2 separate regions of the Homo sapiens genome follow, and region 2 is linked to region 1. The links are contacts of gene promoters, found by promoter capture Hi-C in human tissues and cell types (Jung and others, 2019). All regions are on one chromosome and are shown on one strand. Each heading gives the region's core, a stretch centred on a gene start or on the middle of the fragment in contact. The rest is flanking DNA. Distances are from core to core; before and after follow the strand shown.

Region 1 (5,288 bases), core at 724-3,223:
GTAATTAAAACACATTCATGCTTCTCCTATTTTCCCTTGATTTACATCATTTGTCAGATATCACTTACTTTGGCCAGGCACAGTGGCTTATACCTGTAATCCCAGCATTTTGGGAGGCCGAGGTGGGTGGATCACTTGAGGTCAGGAGTCTGAGACCAGACTGGCCAACATGCTGAAACCATCTCTACTAAAAAAAAAAAAAATACAAAAATACAAAAATTAGCCAGGCATGGTGGCGCACACTTGTAATCCCAGCTACTAGGGTGGCTGAGGCAGGAGGATGGCTTGAAAACCCAAGAGGTGGAGGTTACAGTGTTTCAGTGAGCCGAGATCCTGCCACTGCACTGGAGCCTGGCAACAGCGAAACTCTGTCTCCCAAAAGATATCACTTACTATTTCCTGTCATACATTTAAGATTAAATTATCCCACCACATTGTTTCCCCAACCAAAGAAAGAATACTGACTCTGTCAAACCTGGGAGTAATCTTTGATGCACTCCTCTCTCTCACCATAGAAGTGGAGTCAGCCAATTCACAGAATGCTTTGCCCAGCTCTTATTTCCTTCCCCTTCAGTATGGCTAAATCATACCATATTTTTGGTCTCAGCTTGCATATCACTCTTTTCTTAGCATTGCCTATTCCAAAGAAAAATAGAGAAAATAATTCTGTCCTCTACTTTACTTACAGACCTTCATCAATTTGTAATACACTTATTTGCTTGGTTACATGACAGCCTCCTCCACTAGTTTACAACCTCCCTAAGAACAGCCCTAGGCTGAATTTTTTTACTATGCCTTAATTAACCATTCAGACACTCATCCATTTACAGGATACACCAATAAATGAAGGATACATTTAAACACGGCACAGAATACAATCAGAACTACCAAAATGTATAACTTTCTGAAAGAACGAGTGACTGCGCAAAAAGACAATATAACGGATAAACAGTGTCTGCTAGTTTTAAAGAGACTAAAAGACATGAAACTTGGATACGTAATAGATCCCAAAACAATCAAAACCATATATTGGAACAAAGTGGAGAACTGTACCTTTTTACACAGGGTACATATTAACAACATTTTAAATTTTCTGGGGTAATAGTATTATGGTTTTAAAAGGACATGTCTTTATCCACAGGACACGTATTACCAAGCATTTAAACCTTAAGTGTCACGCCTGCAATGTTCAACTTACTTCAAAGCCTCCATTCCTTCTTCCTAAAAGCCCGTTTTGAAGCTCTGTGGGGAGGTACAGGCCTAGGAAGTTCAGATAAAAAGAATAGCTGAGTATTCTTGCTTTTCTTCAGTAGAAAGACTTCTGGTCTACAAACGTTTATATTCACATAGAGAAATAACCACACCCCAGATACCTAAAAAATAGCTTTATGTTTCTACCTGAATGTAGAGTGTCAAAAGTAAATACAGGATGCGCAAAGAGAAAAACAAATTCTCAGATAAAACAGGAGGAAGAAGCCCCCGAAACCAACTTTCACCCCAGTACTCACCGCGACGAGCTGGACTCGCCAGGTACGGGAGATTGGGGGGATGAAGGACCAGTCAACCTGATTCGAACGACGAAAACTCGTTGTTTCTGGAAAAAAAAAAGTCACAAAGAATTGCTTTGGAAGAGTTTGAAGCGGCAATCACCGTGTTTGCAAAAATCGTGAGGAAGCGCCCTTACGACAGATCCCGAAACGGCTCCTGGCCCAGGGCCGTCGCAGTGACAACTCGAGTGGCTTTTTGAACCTGGCGGCGCCAGGAGGACCCGCGCGGCCCCGGCGGACGCGAGCGGAGCAGGCAAGGTCTCTCTAAGGAGGCCCCTCGGCGGCCTGGGGCAAACCGGTACTTTCGCCACCCCTTCCACCGCTGGCTCCCACCCGTCATCCGACCTCGCCAAAGCTGTATTAAGCCCAAACGCCACCAGGAAGAAAACGGGTTTGGCGGCGCGGAGAAAGCGCCGGAAAACACAGCAGCGCTCCGTGACGTCACTTCCGCCTCCAGCCTCAAACCTGGAGGAGCGCTCGGGAACTGCAACCTCAGCCGAGCTGAACAACCTCAGGCAGAGAGATTCTGGTTTACTCCCCAGTGGCTACGGAGACGCCTTGGAGGCCTTGGAGTCTGCTCACCTTGAGGGATGGAGGCCAAAAGGGGCCCAGAGCACAAGGCTGAGGTTAGAACCAGCCCTGCGGACGGGGCTAACCTAGGGTGGGGTCGGTGGTGTTGGCAAAGTTAGAGGTGGGGGCTCCCCCACAGGATGTGCACAATGCTCACAAAAAGCTTTTATTCTCACCTCCTCCCACGTTCCTAGCACCCTCAAAATGATGCTTCCTTTGATAATCCTGCCAGTCCATGATATGGCCTATCTCCTCCATTCATTCAATCTAGTTTTAGTTTTTTATTTTGTTTTTGTTTGAGACAGGGTCTCACTGTGTAGTCCAGGCTGGCGTGCTGTGGGGCGAAACTCATGGGCTCACGCCATCATCCCGCCTCAGCCTCCCGAGTAGCTGGGTCTACAGGCGCAGGCCACCATGCCCGGCTAATTTTTTTTCCCCCAGAGTTGAGGTATGTTACCCAGGCTGATCTCAAACTCCTGGGCTCCAACAATCATCCCGCCTCAGCCTCCCAAAAGGCTGGGATTACAGGCGTGCACCACGGCGCCGGGCCCAATTCAACTTGAGGCCAATATTTCCCCTTATTTCATTTATCTGGACGCCATGCTAAATTCTAATAGTTGATTCCTTTGTGTATTCAATATGCTGATACTTTTTGTAAATGTTGATTTTTTTTTCTTTGACTAATATATTGTTTTCTGAGATCTTACAGTGAGTTCCAGGGCCTCGTTGTAAAATACCGCGTTGTAAAATAGCACTGATATCAGGCATTCACTTCTGCAGGAGTGATTCTAGTTTCTCCAGAAATCGTTTTTGCTGTGCTTTGTAGTGGGTGGCCTTTATGGAGTTAATAAAGTTATTTTGAACACTGTTTTACTAACATGAAGAACTGTTCATGTACATTATCAAATATTTTGTGAATCTACTGAACTGGTAACTATTTTGCAGTTAATTTTTCAACTCAAAAAGATTTTCTTTTTTAAGTTTCCTCTCTTGCATTAAGAAGTCTTCATAAACTCTAGATTACATATAGATTTCCTAATTTTCTTCTGCAGCATATTACTTTAAAAACATTGAAATCTTTCATACTCATGGAATGTGTTTCAGTATGTGGTGTGGGATAGTGGATACAATATCTCTTTCCTCCAGAAACACGGCCAATTATTGTAGTACCACATATTGATAAACTGTCCTTGATTTACTGATTTCAAATTCCATGTTTATTAAACTATAAATTCCTATGTATACCTGTATCTGATTCTAGACTCTATGCCAGTAATACATTTACTTATGCCAATATCAAGATCATAATCTTTTCATTCCAGTGGTTTTGTATCAACTAATAATATTCCGTGGTAATAATAATAATAATGGTAGCTTTTTTGTTTGTTTGTTTTTGAGACAGTCTTGCTCTGTCACCCAGGCTGGAATACAGTGGTACGATCTCGGCTCACTGCAACCTCCACCTCCTGAGTTCTAGGGATTCTCCTTTCTCAGTCTCCTGAGTAGCTGGGATTATAGGCACGCGCCACCACGCTCAGCTAATTTTTGTATTTTTTTTTTTTTTTTTTTTTAGTAGAGATGGGGTTTCGCCATGTTGGCCAGGGTGGTCTCAAACTCCTAACCTCAGGTGATCTGCCCACCTCAGCCTCTGAAAGTGCTGGTGTGAGCCACCGCACCTGGCGGTAGCTGTTTTTTAAATCTTACTACCCTAAATGCTTAATAGACATTAAATTTTTACGCTCCCAATGATGTGGCTATTATTGTGATTTTTCCCTTTTGGTTTTTAGACCAGCTGTATTGAGATACAATTCACATATAACCAACACAGTTCACCCACTTAAAGCTATATAATTCAATATTTTTTAGTACATTCGCAGTGTTGTTCAAACATAATTTTGGAACATTTTAATCACACTAAAAGAAATCTTTGAATGGGAAAACCCATTTACCTCCTCTTTAAGCTCCAGGGAACCACAAACCTACTTTATCACTACAGATTTTTCTTTTGTAGACATTTCATATGGATATACTCATACAATTTATTTTTATTTTTGTATAGACAGGGTCTCACTATGTTGCAAGGCTGATCTCGAACTCCTGGGCTTAAGTAGTCCTGCCTCGGCCTCCAAAAGTGCTGGGATTATAGGCGTGAGCCACCATGCCCGGCCTAAAAATCATACAATCTTTTGTGAATAACTTTTTTCACTTAGCCCGTTTTTCAAGGTTCATCTGTATTATAGCCTAGATCATTCTATTTTATTGCTGAATGATATTCCATTCTATGTATATACCATATATGATTTGTCTTCAGTTGATGGACATATGGTTTGTTTCCACTTTGGGGGTGTTGTGATTAATGCTGCTATGAAAATTCACATATATCTTTTTGTGCATACTGGCTTTTATTTTTTGAGAAATCACAGCTCACTGCAGCCTCTACCTCCTAGGCTCAAGCGATCCTCCCACCTCAGCCTCCTGAGCAACTAGGACCACAGGCATAAGCCACCACACCCAGCTAATTTTTGTATTTTTTTGTAGAGACAGGGTTTTGCCCAGGCTGGTCTCAAACTCCTAAGCTCAAGCAACCTGCCCGCCTCGGCCTCCACAAAGGCATAAGCCACCACGCTCAGCTGGTTTTTATTTCTCTAGAGTATATATCTGGGAATGGAATTGCTGAGCCATACAGTAACTATCTAAGAATTTGAAGAACTGCCACACTGTTTTTGAAAGGGGCTGTACTGTTTTACATTCCCACCAGAAATGTATGAGGGCTCCAACTTCTCTACGTCCCTGCTAACACTTTAGTGTTTTTCATGTTAACTGTGTTAGTGGTGTGAGGTGATACCTCATGATTTTGACTTGTATTTCCCTAACACTAGTGATGTTCAGCATCATTTAATGTGCTTTGTTAGCCATTTGTATGCTTCTTTGGAGAAATTTCTGTTCAATTCCTTTGCCCCTTTTAAAATTTGTTTTCTGGCTGGGCACGGTGGCTTGTAATCCCAGCAATTTGGGAGGCTGAGACAGACAGATCACTTGAGGCCAGGAGTTCAAGACCAGCCTGGCCAACATCGTAAAAGATAAAAAATCAGCCAGGCGTGATAGCACACACCTGTAATCCCAGCTACTCGGGAGGCTGAGGCAGGAGAATCGCTTGAACCCGGGAGGAAG
Region 2 (5,288 bases), core at 1,704-4,203, 63 kb after region 1:
CACCACTGCACTCCAGCCTGGGCAACAGAGCAAGAATCTGTCTCAAAAAGTCGGGGGCGGGGAAAGAAAGAAAAGAAAGAAAGAACACTATACTTCTGAAAATATATTTGAGTATTCTTATTCAGGATGAAACTGAACAAGACACTGACTTTCTTTTTGAAAACAAGTGGCTTTCAGTTAAAACTAAAATCTATTTTCAGATGTAGCAACAGTAAAACAAACAAACAGAAAAAACAAACAAAAAACAAACTAAAGTCTGTTCCTTATTTCTCTCCAGAATAATTTTTACACTTTACAATACATCCATTCAGAAACTGCCAAATGGTACAAGACCTATGGATGGGAATTTATAATATCCAGCAAAATTAAATGTATATTTGTCCTCTGACCTAAAGTCCAATATTAAAGGTTTAACCTAGTAATACACTTATAAAAATGTTAACTACATATAAAGAAGTTCATTTACTGCAGCTTACTCATGGATGCTAAAATAATTAGTAGGAACGTTGCCGGGGAACAAGATATTCTGGGCGTCCTGCAAGGGATGGTGGCTCATGCTTGTAATCCCAACATTTTCTGAGATTGAGGTGGGAGGATCACTTGAGCCCAGTAGTTCAAGGCTGCAGTGAGCTAGGATCGTGACACTGCACTCCACCCTGGGCGACAAAATGAATCTCAAAAACAAAAAACAAAAAACAAAAAAACCCCGCAAATATATATATATTTTTGTATTTTGTATTTTTAGTAGAGACAGGGATTCACCATCTTGGCCAGGTTGGTAGAGAACTACTGACCTCGTGATCCACCTGCCTCAGCCTCCCAAAGTGCTGGGATTATAGGCGTGAGACACCGCACCAGGCCTGGCTTTGGTCTTTTTGACTAAACCTCTTCTGAAATGTGTTCAATAAAAAGCTGAACTTGGAAAAAAAAAAGGTGGGGGTGGGGGGGACAGGGAGGAAGGCAAGAAAAACAAAAGACAACAAAGAAGATCCTGGCCAGGTGCAGTGGCTCACGCCTGTAATCTCAGCATTTTGGGAGGCTGAGGCAGGCGGATCACGAGGTCAGGAGATCAAGACCATCCTGGCCAACATGGTGAAACCCCATCTCCACTACAAATACAAAAATTAGCTGGGCGAGGTGGCACGTGCCTGAAATCCCAGCTACTCAAAAGGCTGAGGCAGGAGAATCGCTTGAACCAGGGAGGCAGAGGTTGCAGTAAGTCGAGATCACACCACTGCACTCCACCCTGGCGACAGAACGAGACTGTGTCTCAAAAAAAAAATAGAATGAAATCCTGTCATTTTCAACAACGTAGATAGAACTGGAGGACAGTACGTTAAGTGAAATAAACCAGGCACAGAAACACAAAGTTGGGCGTGGTAAGCGGTGGTTGCAGTGAGCCAATATCATGCCACCGCACTCCAGCCTGGGCAACAAGGCAACATCCTGCCTCAAAAAAACTCTCAAAAAAAAAAAATCTTGAATAGAGCTCAGATCCAAAAACATTCCGTTATATTTTAGAAGAATTTGGAGAATTTTCATTTATTATACATAGTAAATATTAGATAACATTATTATTTTTAATTTTCTTGATGCAAATAGTATTACGGTTTTAGTAAAACAACACTCTTATCATTGAGTCAGGCATTACCCACTACTTAAATGTCGAGCTTACCATCCTGGCTATCACGGTGAAACCCCATCTCTACAAAAATACAAAAAATTATCCGGGCACGGTGGCACACCCCTGTAATTACAGCCACTTGGGAAGCTGAGGCAGGAGAATCGCTTGAACCCGGGAGGCAGAGGTTGCAGTGAGGCGAGATCGCGCCACTGCACTCCAGCCTGGGCGACACAGCTAGACCCCCTCTCAAAAAAAAAAAAAAAAAAAAAATGTCGAGCTTCATCTCTGCAATGAATTTCCCATTGACTCTCAAACTGTTCACCATAAAATTTATTTACGAGACGGCGAATACACAAAACGCTAAAAAACAGGTGCAGCTACAATGGATATTTATTCGTGGTACTGGATGGTCAACATACCCATAGGTTTAAGTTTTTTCGAAAAAAAATGCGGGAAAAATACACTTAGTACAGTCATCCTGTTAATGGTAAATTCGATTATTCTAGTATTAGTGTGTAAACCCTCCATCCTTTCTTCCAGGAAGCCTGGTTATGAAGCTCTTTGGAGACGTACAGAGCTAGGAACTTCAGATGAAAAGAATGGCTGAGTATTCTTAGGTTTCTTTAGTAGAAAGACTCGCGGTCTACAAACGTTTATATGCACATGCAGAAATACGCACACCCTAGACAACTAAGAAAGCACCTTTCTACCGGAACGTAATGTGTCAATAAAAAATATACAGGTTTCACAAAGGCAAAATGCCAAAATCTCACATGAAACACTCGTTTGCATAAAAAAGGAAGCAGCTGCCCCCTTAAACCAACTTTTTCCCAATGCTCACCCGAACACGGTGGAGTCGCCAGGTCCGTGGGGCTACAGGATCTTGGGGACGGAGTCAATCGAACGCGAACGGCAAAATTCTTTTCCCTCTGAAACACAATTCACAAACGTTGCCTTGGAGACTTATTTTTTAAGGCCTCAGAACGCTTGGACACTTTTGAAGACGGGAACACACGGCTGAAAACAGCCCTCGGACGCGCCCATACTGCACTTCCCACCCGGCTCCTCTAGGGGACCGAAGGTCCCAATGGCCTCTTCGACGTGGCCTCACCCGATGGCTCCGCGACTCCTGCGGACTCCTGTGGAGTGGTCCAGGCCTCTGTAAGGAGGTTCCTCGATTACCCTGGGTCGATTGTGACCTCTGCCACCCCCCGAAACACCGCCCAACCCACTAGTCCACACGAGCCTCACCAAAGTAGTGAACGACCAGACAACACAAAGGAAAAAGTGGCTCTGAGGAAACAGGCGCCAGCGACCAAAAGAGAGAACTGGCGCGCCGCAACGTCACTTCCGTTTGGGGCATTGGAAGGGGCGTGGCTCGTTGTGTGGGCAGTTGGACAGGATGGAACTCTTCAGGATTCTAGTTTCCCTCCGCGTGGGTGCGGAGGTATCAAGGGGTCGGCTCAGTGCCTGGGTGGGCAAGAGAGAAATGGACCCACAGAGAAAGGTGGGGGTTAAATCAGGGCTGTGGGCGGGGCCCATGCCCGGGGGCGGGGCTGGAGGTGGGACCAGACCCAGCCGGTGGCTTCGGTGGCAGAATGGACCAGGAAGGCGAAACGTCGGGCGATGGACTCGCCCCTCAGGATGCTCATTAGAAACTTTCCCCACGTTCCTGGACCCCTTTCAGGATTCTCTCCAGTTGATAACCTGCCAATCCACAAAATGGCCTGCTTCCTGCATTCGATCACGTCTTTAGAACTTTATTTTCTCTTATTTCTTTTTATTTATCTGACCTTGCTAAACTCTAATCATTGATTCCTCTGCGTTTTCAGTTATCGATACTTTCTGTAAATATTGCAATTTTTTTCTTTTCTTTCTTTTTTCTTTTCTTTTCTTTTTTTCTTCGAGGTAGGGTCTGGCTCGGTTGCCAAGGCTGGAATGCAGTGGTAGGAACACGGCTCACTGCAGTCTCCACCTCTCCAGGCTCAAGCCATCCTTCCACCTCAGCCTCCCGAGTAGCTGGGACCACGGGCGCACCGCACCCGGCTAATTTTTGTATTATTATTATTATCATCATTATTATTATTTTGTAGAGACAGGATCTAACCATGTTGCCCAGGCTGGTCTGGAACTCCTGGGCTCAAGTGATCTGCCCGCCCTGCACTCCCGAAGTGGGATTACAGGCGTGAGCCATCATGCACCATGCCTGGCCTTATTGTATTTTTTTTTCTTCTTCAACAATGTATTTGTTACTATTTCTCAAATCTTATCAAATGATTCAAAGCCTCCTGTACTACTTTATGAAATAACACTGATACCAGGCATTCTTCACTTATTCTGTGCAGAAAAAGAAAGGACTGTTGGACTTGTGGTAGAGATTTAGTTGAATCTTCGGGTTATATTGGTATCTTTATAATACTGAGTCTTCCTATGTGTGAATATACAATATCTCTCTATTTAGGTCTTCTTTAAACTCTTTCAGTAATGTTTTGAAATTTTCAGTTTACAAATATTTTACCTCTTGGGGTAAAGTTATTCCCATGTAACTTATTTGTAAAAGGGATCACATTCTCAGTTTCCTTTTCTGATTGTTCATTGCTGGTGTATAGATACAAAACTAATTTTCATCTCTTGATGTTGTACTGTGCAACTTTACGGAATTTATTACAAGCTCTGCTAGTTTTCTTGTAGATTCTTCAAAATTCTCTATATATCAAATATCACCTATAAATATATTTTTATTTGTTCTATTCTAATTGAGAAACCTTTTATTTTATTTTCTTGTGTAATTGCTCTGGCTAGAATTTCCTGTAGAGGCTGGGCACGGTGGCTCACTCCTGTAATCCCAACATTTTGGGAGGCCGAGGTGGGTGGATCACCTGAGGTCAGGAGTTCAAGACCAGCCTGACCAACATGGTGAAACCCCGTCTCTACTAAAGATACAAAAAATTAGCCAGGCGTGGTGGTTGGCACCTGTAATCCCAGCTACTCGGGAGGCTGAGGCAGGAGAATCACTTGAACCTGGGAGGCGGAGGTTACGGAGTTTGCAGTGAGTGGAGATGGCTCCATTGCACTCCAGCCTGGGTGACAAGAGCAAAACTTCATCTCAAAAAAAAAAAAAAAAAAAGAATTTCCTGTAGAATGTTGAATAACAATAGAAAAATCAGACATCTTTCTCTCCTTCCTGGTCTTAGGGAGAATTTTCAGGCATTCACTATTGAATATCACGTTAGCTGTGTTTTCGTAAGTGCGTTTTGTCACGTTGAATAAACTCCCTTCTGTTTCTAGTTTTCTTAATTTTTTTTTTGAGACAATCTCGCTCTGTCACCCAGGCTGGAGTGCAGTGGCATGATCTTGGCTCACTGCAACCTCCACCTCCCGGGTTCAAGCAATTCTCTGCCTCAGCCTCCCAAGTAGGTGGGCACTCCCAAGTGCCCACCACAACACCTGGCTAATTTTTTTGTATTTTTAGTAGAGACGGGGTTTCACCAGCTTGGCCAGGCTGGTCTCCAACTCCTGACCTCATGATCCACCTGCCTTGGCCACCCAAAGTGCTGGGATTACAGGTGTGAGCCACCACGCCTGGCCAGTTTTCTTAATTTTTATCAAGGAAAAGTGTTGGGTTTCATCAAATGCCTTTCCTGCATTAGTTGAGGTGATTCTG

The links. Contacts are between HindIII fragments. The study calls those that stand out against the background at their distance.
Region 2: the fragment with the promoter of ZNF560 here is called in contact with the fragment with the promoter of ZNF266 in region 1 in 2 of the 25 tissues and cell types used here (adrenal gland and thymus).

What each region holds. Positions count from the first base shown.
Region 1 is chr19:9,433,600-9,438,887 of GRCh38, forward strand. It overlaps ZNF266 (zinc finger protein 266), which reads right to left and starts at 1,974. Exons shown (of 11, transcript NM_001370374.1): 1 at 1,685-1,974; 2 at 1,509-1,594; 3 at 1,199-1,260; 4 at 476-636; 5 at 69-187. It overlaps LOC105372269 (a long non-coding RNA gene), which reads left to right and starts at 2,042. Exons shown (of 3, transcript XR_007067133.1): 1 at 2,042-2,173. RefSeq lists an enhancer at 1,765-1,894. The HindIII fragment of the contact is 27,667 bases long and covers 1-5,288 here.
Region 2 is chr19:9,495,663-9,500,950 of GRCh38, forward strand. It overlaps ZNF560 (zinc finger protein 560), which reads right to left and starts at 2,954. Exons shown (of 10, transcript NM_152476.3): 1 at 2,876-2,954; 2 at 2,466-2,553. The HindIII fragment of the contact is 15,358 bases long and covers 1-5,288 here.